Regions from separate parts of the Homo sapiens genome. Here regions 1 and 2 are each linked to region 3. The links are contacts of gene promoters, found by promoter capture Hi-C in blood cells and fetal thymus (Javierre and others, 2016). All regions are on one chromosome and are shown on one strand. Each heading gives the region's core, a stretch centred on a gene start or on the middle of the fragment in contact. The rest is flanking DNA. Distances are from core to core; before and after follow the strand shown.

Region 1 (2,872 bases), core at 100-2,599, 540 kb after region 3:
AAAAATTAAGATGAATCTGGTTTACTTTTAAAGTTATAGTCAAGCAAAGGGTGGTATTAGAGGTTTCTGCTGGACTGAGGATGGGTTGGGTAAGAATCAAAGGACAGGAGGCCTAATATTCTCCCTGCCCTTTTTTTTTTTTTTTTAATTAGAGGTAGGGTCTCCATATGTTACCCAGGCTGGTCTCAAACTCCTGGCCTCAAGCCATCCTCCCACTTCAGCCTCTAGGGTAGCTGGGATTACAGGCACGCACCGCCATACCTGGCTCATCCCTGCCCTTTTTGATATACACTTTACCTATTCTTGGGGCCATGTTTCTTATCTGGATATCTCTTCAGTTTATACCTAACTTCCTACACACTCACAGTTGCCTCTTCTTTTCTCCACAGGTGGTTCAGAATCTGGGGAGCCTTATATTCCAGGTGTCTTTTTCAGACAGTTTCTACCTGTATCACCCAAGGCAAGTGGCAGTGTTTAGAATATTCTAAATGTGGAATGTGGCAGATGGAAAACTATGGCTTGAGCTTTGCAGCCCAGCACTGAGTGTTAGAAGATAAAAGAAATTTAGCGGCTAGGACTTTGTTGTATTCTTGGGATGTAGAGATGTTGAGTCTGTCATGTTCCTTGTCTTGGTCCTCAGGTGCAGTTTGATGTAGTAGTGTCAGCTTTTTCCTTAAGTGAACTGCCCAGCAAGGCTGACCGCACTGAGGTAGTTCAAACCTTATGGCGTAAGACAGGTCATTTCCTGGTGAGTTAAAATTCCTTGTTCTCCTTAAGTCTTGAAGCAGCTTCATGGATTTCATGCCTTTGCTCCTCTCATTGTCTTTATTCTTCACCATTTTTCTCCTTCATGGGTTTCTTTATCCCTCTTTGAGGGTCTCCATCCTGATTATGTAATGCCTATTTCTTTTTAGGACTCCTTCTCCCTCTATGATTGCTCTTACACAGCTACTGACATTTATACTTTCGTGTAATTCAAGTCTTCTGCATATTTTCCCCTTTTGTGAACAGGTACTGGTGGAGAATGGAACAAAAGCTGGGCACAGCCTTCTCATGGATGCCAGGGATCTGGTCCTTAAGGTAAGGCTTCTTCTTCCCTCACTCCCCCACCCATATGGCACCAATTACTGTTACTCTCTTGAAAACGAAAGAGACTGTCATGTATTGACAAGGGTGGCTCTCAGGAAACTGGGCGTATGAAGTCATTATGATACAGAGCAGTGGTTGGCAAATGAGAGCCTGTGGATCAAATCCGACCTGCCACCTGTTTTTATATAAGCCATGCTTATTTGTGCCTCTGTTGTCTGTGACTGCTTTCACACTACAAACAGCAGAGTTGAGTAGTTGGGACAGAGATAGATTTTGCCTACTCTCTGGCCCTTTAAAAGAAACTTTGCGGACTCCTAATCTAGGGCATTGCTGAGCTAAGAACCTTGTCACTGGGGGAGAGTATGAGCCAGTGTATAATCATAAATTTAATTGTCCTGGAGTGGGATTTTTTTGAGAGTGGAGGTTGCTGACAAGGGAGAGCACCGTACTATGTGCCAAGTTCTTGCCTTTCTCCTGCAGCAAAGAGAAAGTTCTTTGTTTGGAGTATTAAAGATGCAGCCAGCTTAATTCAAAGGACATAGTCAATCGTTATTAGAATTGAGTGTTAAAGGAGTCCTCAGTTTACTGAGTGCAGAGATTGAATTATGAAAATAGACCCTTGGCCCAGCTTTATTTCTTTTATTTCCTTTGATTTCAGGGAAAAGAGAAGTCACCTTTGGACCCTCGACCTGGTTTTGTCTTTGCCCCGGTGAGTATTACTTCTGCCTGTCCCACCACACGGATCTGAACTTAGGCGTGGCCGGGAAATGTAAGATGGTAAAGCTAAGCCACTCTCCACTACTTTGTGTTCCTATCCAGTTCCTACCTAATGATTCCCCTGGCTCTTCCTACCCACTGCTCCTGTCCTCCCTTCTCCCTGGCCCCTTTTGACTCTATTATTCTCAGTTTTTAAGTTTTGTGATTGATGGCTCTTTTGTCTTACCTCATTTTTTTATGTGTTCACAGTGTCCCCATGAACTCCCTTGTCCCCAGTTGACCAACCTGGCCTGTAGCTTCTCACAGGCGTACCATCCCATCCCCTTCAGCTGGGTAGGTACCTGGGGATATTGCAGCAGGAAGCAAACATCCTGGAAAAACAGGAAGAAAAAGAATCAGAGTTAGGAGGAGTTGGATAATTTGTAGAATAGCCTGGAGACTTTAGGGCCTACATGTATATGATTTATACATTGTAAAAAAGGACTGCAGGAATGGGGAAGAAGGGACTGTACAAACTTTTTTCCCATATCTTTTTCTTCTAAACAGTCTCTATGTTCCTTATCTTAGAACAAGAAACCAAAGGAAGAAAAGTTCTCTATGGTGATCCTTGCTCGGGGGTCTCCAGAGGAGGCTCATCGCTGGCCCCGTATCACTCAGCCTGTCCTTAAACGGCCTCGCCATGTGCATTGTCACTTGTGCTGTCCAGATGGGCACATGCAGCATGCTGTGCTCACAGCCCGCCGGCACGGCAGGTATGGGGGGTGTGACCAAAATCAGTGGGATGTGGCAGGAAGCTGCAGCCCACGCCAGCATCTGTTTCCACAGGGATTTGTATCGTTGTGCCCGTGTCAGCTCCTGGGGAGATCTTTTACCTGTGCTTACTCCGTCTGCGTTTCCTCCATCTACGGCTCAGGATCCCTCTGAGAGTTGATGAGGATGTGTAACAAGTATTTTCTTCTATCGTGCCTGCCAGGGCTGAAGCTGCCTGGTATCCAGGAGGGGAATGCTGGTATCCCCATATGTCTGTGTTTGTTTGAGATTTTTAATAATAAATAATAAATTTTTG
Region 2 (2,834 bases), core at 80-2,579, 980 kb after region 3:
TAGCAAAAATGAACAGATGTTAAGTTGGTTTCAATGCAAAGTAACTGCCTAGATAAAGAAGTCACACCAACTTTTATCATATTAAGAATGAAAAGCCAGTGTTGGCCCACCAGTCCCCAAAAGAGAAACACATGTATGTGCTCAAAAGGAAAGACAAAACTTAGTGGTTGTACTTAGTCACTTTCCATAATTACAAACTAATGACCAGAATCATGACAGAAATCTTGGAGGGCATGTAGGGGGTGAGGGATGGCAGTGGAAGGGAAAAGTAACAAACTAGTCAGTTAAGGTTAAAATCCAAGCCCATCTATCTATAATCGCCAAGTAACAATACAGTTACCTGTAGAAAAATACTTTATTATATATGCCAGTATAGCCCTTCACTTCATCTCCTTCTTAAAGGTGAAACTACTGCTTCCCCTTGAGACAAGTACAAACTGATGTTCTTCTGCAGCTTTACCACCTTTAATACAGTTCTTGATTTTTTTGGAAATCTAGAGTCCCAACTCTCTCATTCTTATTTGACATTATTCCTCACCCTTGCCCATTTCTATAATAAACTGTCTGTCCTATGATAAAGTATTTTGTTTTAATTCTACCCTATATTTTTCCATCTCAATCTCTCCATACCTTTCAACAAAGCAGTGATTCTCAACCAGGGGATGGAGACTAAGGCCCTTAAGAAGGGCTTCTGGGAACCGAGGGTGGAGATAAATGTGCAGTTCTTAAAGGTGTATTCAATATTATAATTTTATATTTATCAAGTGAAAAAACTACATCTCATTGTTTAGGCTATTTATATTTATTAACACTGGACAAAGCCTTCTTGGCCAGTGAAGATCTGTAAAAGACACGTGAGGAGTAGAGGGCAGAGAAAGAAACATTCCTGGCTTGGCAGAGTTACCAGTATCTTTGGGATGGGATAAGATTTCCTATAGCCTCTCAAAAGGAGTTTATCATCATTTACTGTTTATGATGGATGAGAAACACTGCAAGAGATTAGTTCTGTCGTCTAATAGATAAAATTATGTAAAATGAGCTACAGATATCTATTGCCCACTTATAGATTTCTCCGTAGTGACAACCTCTTAGAAGACAATGAACGAATGCAGTATTGAGCCATGCTGACCTCTTTCTGTAATGTGCACTTTTAGAAAGTACCACTCATGACCACTTAACCTCTAGCTGCTCAAAGGTTCAGAAAAGAATAAACTATTTTATTTACTTCAAAGAACAAATCTTGTTGTTGGAAACTGTATCCTTTCAAGAAGATCAGTTGCAGATAGACATAAATACATGTTACTGAAACATAAGATGGGTAGAAGCAGCTTAATTTAAATGAGAAATACCTTGAAAATAAAATAATCCAAAGGGCTAAAATGAAAATCACCAACATAATTTTAAAAGAGAAGTATTTTAAAACTGTACCATGAAGACATTCGTGAGACACGAAGGGTCTCAAATCTTATACAGAAATGAAAAATAAACATCCAAAGTGAATGCAATCACAATTTAGGGTCAGCAAAGGATCAGGATGGAAAGACATAGGACCAAATTGGAGCCACTCAGATTTCCTAAGTAGATCAAGATCCTAGGCCATTTTCTCTGTCTTCACCATTCTCACTGCCAAATGTGTGGCTACTCTGTTTCTGTTTTCCAATTACTGAAAGAGAAAGCACTCACACCTCAATCAAGGGTATGGTCATTTGGGGGAATATAAGGCTGGTAAAGTAAGACCTTGTGAATAAATCGGAAAAGCAAAATAGGCAACTACGACAGCTAAAGACATGTATTTTCAGGGGGTAAAGAAGAAACTAGAGAGATTCTGCACTCATGAAAAAAGGGAAAGGGCGAGGTGAGGAAGTGAGGGGTTGATGGAGAGGAAAACGCGACTGGGGTGGGGGTGGGGGGGACCCGGGTACATTACCTGCTCATACTGCCGGGGTTGGTGCCAGTAAGGTCCATACAGCAGAGGCGGAAGATTTCTGGTAACTGGAGACCCCAAAATGGAAATGAGGTACATGCACTTGAGGTAAGGAGCTAGCGGGGGTGCCCTCCAGGGTGGGGATGGCCAAGACGGGAAGATGCGGGGGGTGGGGGGTGTGGATGCCCGGGATAGGAGCAATGTTAGGGCGGAAGCTGCAGGCCGAGAGGCCCGACAAGCCCTGAAGGAGAAAACGAGCTGTGCCTCACCCCAGTGGAGGAGAGAGGTGGCTTTACCTGCAGTGGCTGTGGGGGGCCGGTTCGCCCCTCTCCCTGTCTCTCCAGCACCAGTTCCCCCTCCTCCTGCGCAACCTAACCTGATGCTCCTGCCCGCCCCGCGCCATCATTGGCTGAAGCGCACTGCCACTCACCAAAGGCGAAAAGACGCAAAACAGCGCAAAGGGTGGGACTATAAGGAGCTCCCTTCCCCCTCCCCCGCAGGTTAGGTTGAGAGCGCACGGAGAGGCCTATCCGGTTTCTAGGGCCGAGGCGAAGCCTGCAGCTTGCTTGAAAAAAGGGGGCTGGCCAGAGGAACAGTCTCATAGTACGCGAAACCAGTCCTGGAGATTAAATTCCCTACCATCTACTCTGAATTCTTCACCCTGAAGAGTATAAACTTGGGAGGGAGGGTTCCGCGCTAGGCCAGCTCCGCCTCCCTCTGAATCCCCGGCCTTCTAGCAGCCCTGTCAACCCCTCTCCTGTAGTGACTACACCGTATCCCACTACCTAATAAAAGGGGCCAAATCTTCTTCCCTCCATCGTGGGAGTCAGCCCAGCTGGAATATGGGGCCTTTTAAAGCACTCTTTCTGCCACAACACATAAGGTTGCCGTGCATTTTTGACACTGTGAC
Region 3 (2,940 bases), core at 309-2,808:
TTTCAGATACATGCAAGTCAGCTGCCCTCTCCTATGTATGCAAGTGTTTGAGGGGAGAGTAGCAAGATATAATAGCTTATTTAAAATATCAATTAAAAGTTGTAATGTGTTTTGTACTTTTTTTTTTTTTGAGACAGAGTTTCACTCTTGATGCCCAGGCTGGAGTGCAATGGCACCATCTCGGCTCACTGCAACCTCTGTCTCCCGGGTTCACGCAATTCTCCTGCCTCAGCCTCCCAAGTAGCTGGGTTTACAGGCATGCGCCACCACGCCCAGTTAATTTTTTGTATTTTTTAGTGGAAACATGGTTTCTCCATGTTGGTCAGGCTGGTCTCGAACCCCGACCTCAGGTGATCTGCCTGCCTTGGCCTCCCAAAGTGCTGGGATTACAGGCGTGAGCCACCACGCCCAGCCGTGTTTGGTACTTTCATCTAATCTTCAAGACCTAATGATACAGGTATTATTCCCATTTTAAAAACAAAGACCAGGCCCGAGCGGTGGCTCATGCCTGTAATTTCCACACTTTGGGAGGCTGGGGTGGGCGGATCATCTGAGGTCAGGAGTTCGAGACCAGCTTGGCCTGGTGGAAACCCCGACTCTACTAAAAATACAAAATTTAGCTGGATGTGGTGGCGCACACCTATAGTCCTAGCTACTTGGGAGGCTGGGGTAGAAGAATCGCTTGAACCTGGAAGGCAGAGATTGCAGTGAGCCGAGATCGTGCCACTGCATTCCAGCCTGGGCGACAGAGCAAGACTCTGTCTCAAAAAAATAAAATAAAATAAAAAATAAAGACCAAATGTCCAAAACAAAAATATTTAATATGAATATAGCAAAGCCAGCCAGTTCTGTCTGACATGTAAGCCGGGAGTCTTTCCACTCTCATCTCTCTACTCATCCTAGAATATTTCAAAAAATAATTTTTTTTTAAAAAGGGAGTGTATATTCAGGGCAACTGGAATCTATACTCCTGCTAAGCGTTTTTTAAACAGAATATTTCGAGTCCATCTCTATTATACTGTTTATCATGCTGTAGTATAAACATCTATTTATATGTCTGACTCCACAGCAGTATAACATCTATTTCTGAATACTTAGCACATAAAATGCGCTCAGTAAAAGGTAAATGAACTCATCAGATCCACGTCCAAGTGCCTGTAACTCTTCTAGTCATCAGCCTTGTGACGTTAATAATGTCACATAATTTCAATGAGACTCGGATCGAAAGCTGCACCTCACTAGTATTTAGGAAGATGGAAGGCTGATTCTGTGCGGGGAAGTGCGCGGAAAACTCTTAAGTCCCCTACTCACCAACCTGTGCCAGGAGGCGTGACGTAAGTCCGCCGCGGGTTCGCCAGCACCTTGCCATCCCGCACCACGCCCACGCCAATCTTATTGGCGCTGCCTTCAAAACCCAGCACCGCCGGCATGGCGGAGGCTGGGAGAAAACGCCGACAGGACTCCTGGCAATGTCAGGAGCTGTGGAGGTCCTCACTAGTCCGCGCTGGGCCGCAGCTTTCCGGAGCGCAGAGGAAGCTGGCCAGCCTGCAGATAGCACTGGGAAAGACACCGCGGAACTCCCGCGAGCGGAGACCCGCCAAGGCCCCTCCAGGGACCTGTCTTCCTAACTGCCAGGGACGCCGAGCCAACTCTGTGCCTTACATTCGTATCCGTTTTCCTATCTCTTTCCCGTGGTCCAGCCCAGCCTTCTCCACTGTTTTTTTCCCTCTTGCACATAGTTAGAATCTTAAGTCAGTGTCACACAATGTGCTGTGCATCTGGCACAACGATAAACAGCCCGAGGGAGGGTTGGGGACCTAAGTGTCCTAGAGAATTAGAGGAGGGAGGCGAGGCTAAGCGTCTCCGTCACGTGGTGTCAGACAGACCAATCACGCGCATTCTTCGGCCACGACAAGCGCGCCTCTGATCACGTGACCAGGTCCGCTACCCACGTGGGGGCTCAGCGTGCACCCTTCTTTGTGCTCGGGTTAGGAGGAGCTAGGCTGCCATCGGGCCGGTGCAGATACGGGGTTGCTCTTTTGCTCATAAGAGGGGCTTCGCTGGCAGTCTGAACGGCAAGCTTGAGTCAGGACCCTTAATTAAGATCCTCAATTGGCTGGAGGGCAGATCTCGCGAGTAGGGTACAAGGCACTATGAAATGATCTAGTTTCGTGGGTGAGGGGCTGAAGGGCCTATGATGCACGGAGGCGGGGAAAGGATTTAGAGATAACGTGGTTTGAAAGGCGGGACCTGGTGCGGGGACGCTCTTGGGAGGAGTCTTCTCCCCAGCCTTAGCTGGTTTCATGATTTCTTTGCGTCTGTAGGCAACGCGGTAAAAATATTGCTTCGGTGGGTGACGCGGTACAGCTGCCCAAGGGCGTTCGTAACGGGAATGCCGAAGCGTGGGAAAAAGGGAGCGGTGGCGGAAGACGGGGATGAGCTCAGGACAGGTAAGGGAATGAAATCAGCCCTTCTTCCTAGAAGCTGCGGCGGGGGTGTTTGTCATTCCCTTGATGTACGGTAAGTACGGGCCGACTCATTTTTGCAGGGGTTTGTGAAGAAGTCGCAGGAACCGTAGGCTTTCGTTGGGTCTATAGTTAACGCCGGATCGCAGTTGGAAACCACCAGCTTTTTGTCAGTATATATTACTCATTTTATAGAGCCAGAGGCCAAGAAGAGTAAGACGGCCGCAAAGAAAAATGACAAAGAGGCAGCAGGAGAGGGCCCAGCCCTGTATGAGGACCCCCCAGATCAGAAAACCTCACCCAGTGGCAAACCTGCCACACTCAAGATCTGCTCTTGGAATGTGGATGGGCTTCGAGCCTGGATTAAGAAGAAAGGATTAGATGTGAGTGGAATTTGAGGGAAAGAGACATTTTTTAGTATTGAATGGTCTTAGGGTTTAGTCACCCCTTTTCTCCGTTTAGCCTTCAGGCTGTT

What was found. Contacts are between HindIII fragments. The CHiCAGO score rates a contact against its expected background, and 5 or more counts as called.
Region 1: a contact is called between a fragment that was not itself captured here and the fragment with the promoter of OSGEP in region 3, in 1 of 17 cell types (naive CD4 T cells). The highest score is 5.1, in naive CD4 T cells.
Region 2: a fragment that was not itself captured here is called in contact with the fragment with the promoter of OSGEP in region 3 in 1 of 17 cell types (erythroblasts); the score reaches 5.3 in erythroblasts.

Annotation. Positions count from the first base shown.
Region 1 is chr14:20,994,154-20,997,025 of GRCh38, forward strand. It overlaps METTL17 (methyltransferase like 17), which reads left to right. Exons shown (of 14, transcript NM_022734.3): 8 at 390-460; 9 at 641-748; 10 at 1,012-1,080; 11 at 1,748-1,798; 12 at 2,056-2,139; 13 at 2,374-2,558; 14 at 2,632-2,872. The coding sequence ends at 2,737. It overlaps LOC101929718 (a long non-coding RNA gene), which reads right to left. Exons shown (of 4, transcript NR_110139.1): 3 at 2,679-2,872; 4 at 1,684-2,177. Among named protein-coding and RNA genes, the nearest start is that of SLC39A2, 3.7 kb to the right of the region's middle. RefSeq lists an enhancer at 1,976-2,872. The HindIII fragment of the contact is 5,148 bases long and covers 1-2,872 here.
Region 2 is chr14:21,434,974-21,437,807 of GRCh38, forward strand. All of the region lies in intron 1 of CHD8 (chromodomain helicase DNA binding protein 8), which reads right to left. Among named protein-coding and RNA genes, the nearest start is that of CHD8, 20 kb to the right of the region's middle. RefSeq lists enhancers at 2,189-2,732, 2,520-2,679, 2,710-2,834. The HindIII fragment of the contact is 3,471 bases long and covers 1-2,834 here.
Region 3 is chr14:20,453,254-20,456,193 of GRCh38, forward strand. It overlaps OSGEP (O-sialoglycoprotein endopeptidase), which reads right to left and starts at 1,559. Exons shown (of 11, transcript NM_017807.4): 1 at 1,316-1,559. The coding sequence starts at 1,430. It overlaps APEX1 (apurinic/apyrimidinic endodeoxyribonuclease 1), which reads left to right and starts at 1,973. Exons shown (of 5, transcript NM_001641.4): 1 at 1,973-2,141; 2 at 2,325-2,450; 3 at 2,661-2,848. The coding sequence starts at 2,393. RefSeq lists a silencer at 1-209, promoters at 1,472-1,916, 1,546-2,083, 1,748-2,082, enhancers at 1,507-1,596, 2,017-2,236 and cis regulatory regions at 1,543-1,873, 1,804-1,959, 1,830-1,871, 1,868-1,873, 1,884-1,916 and 2 more. The HindIII fragment of the contact is 3,687 bases long and covers 1-2,078 here.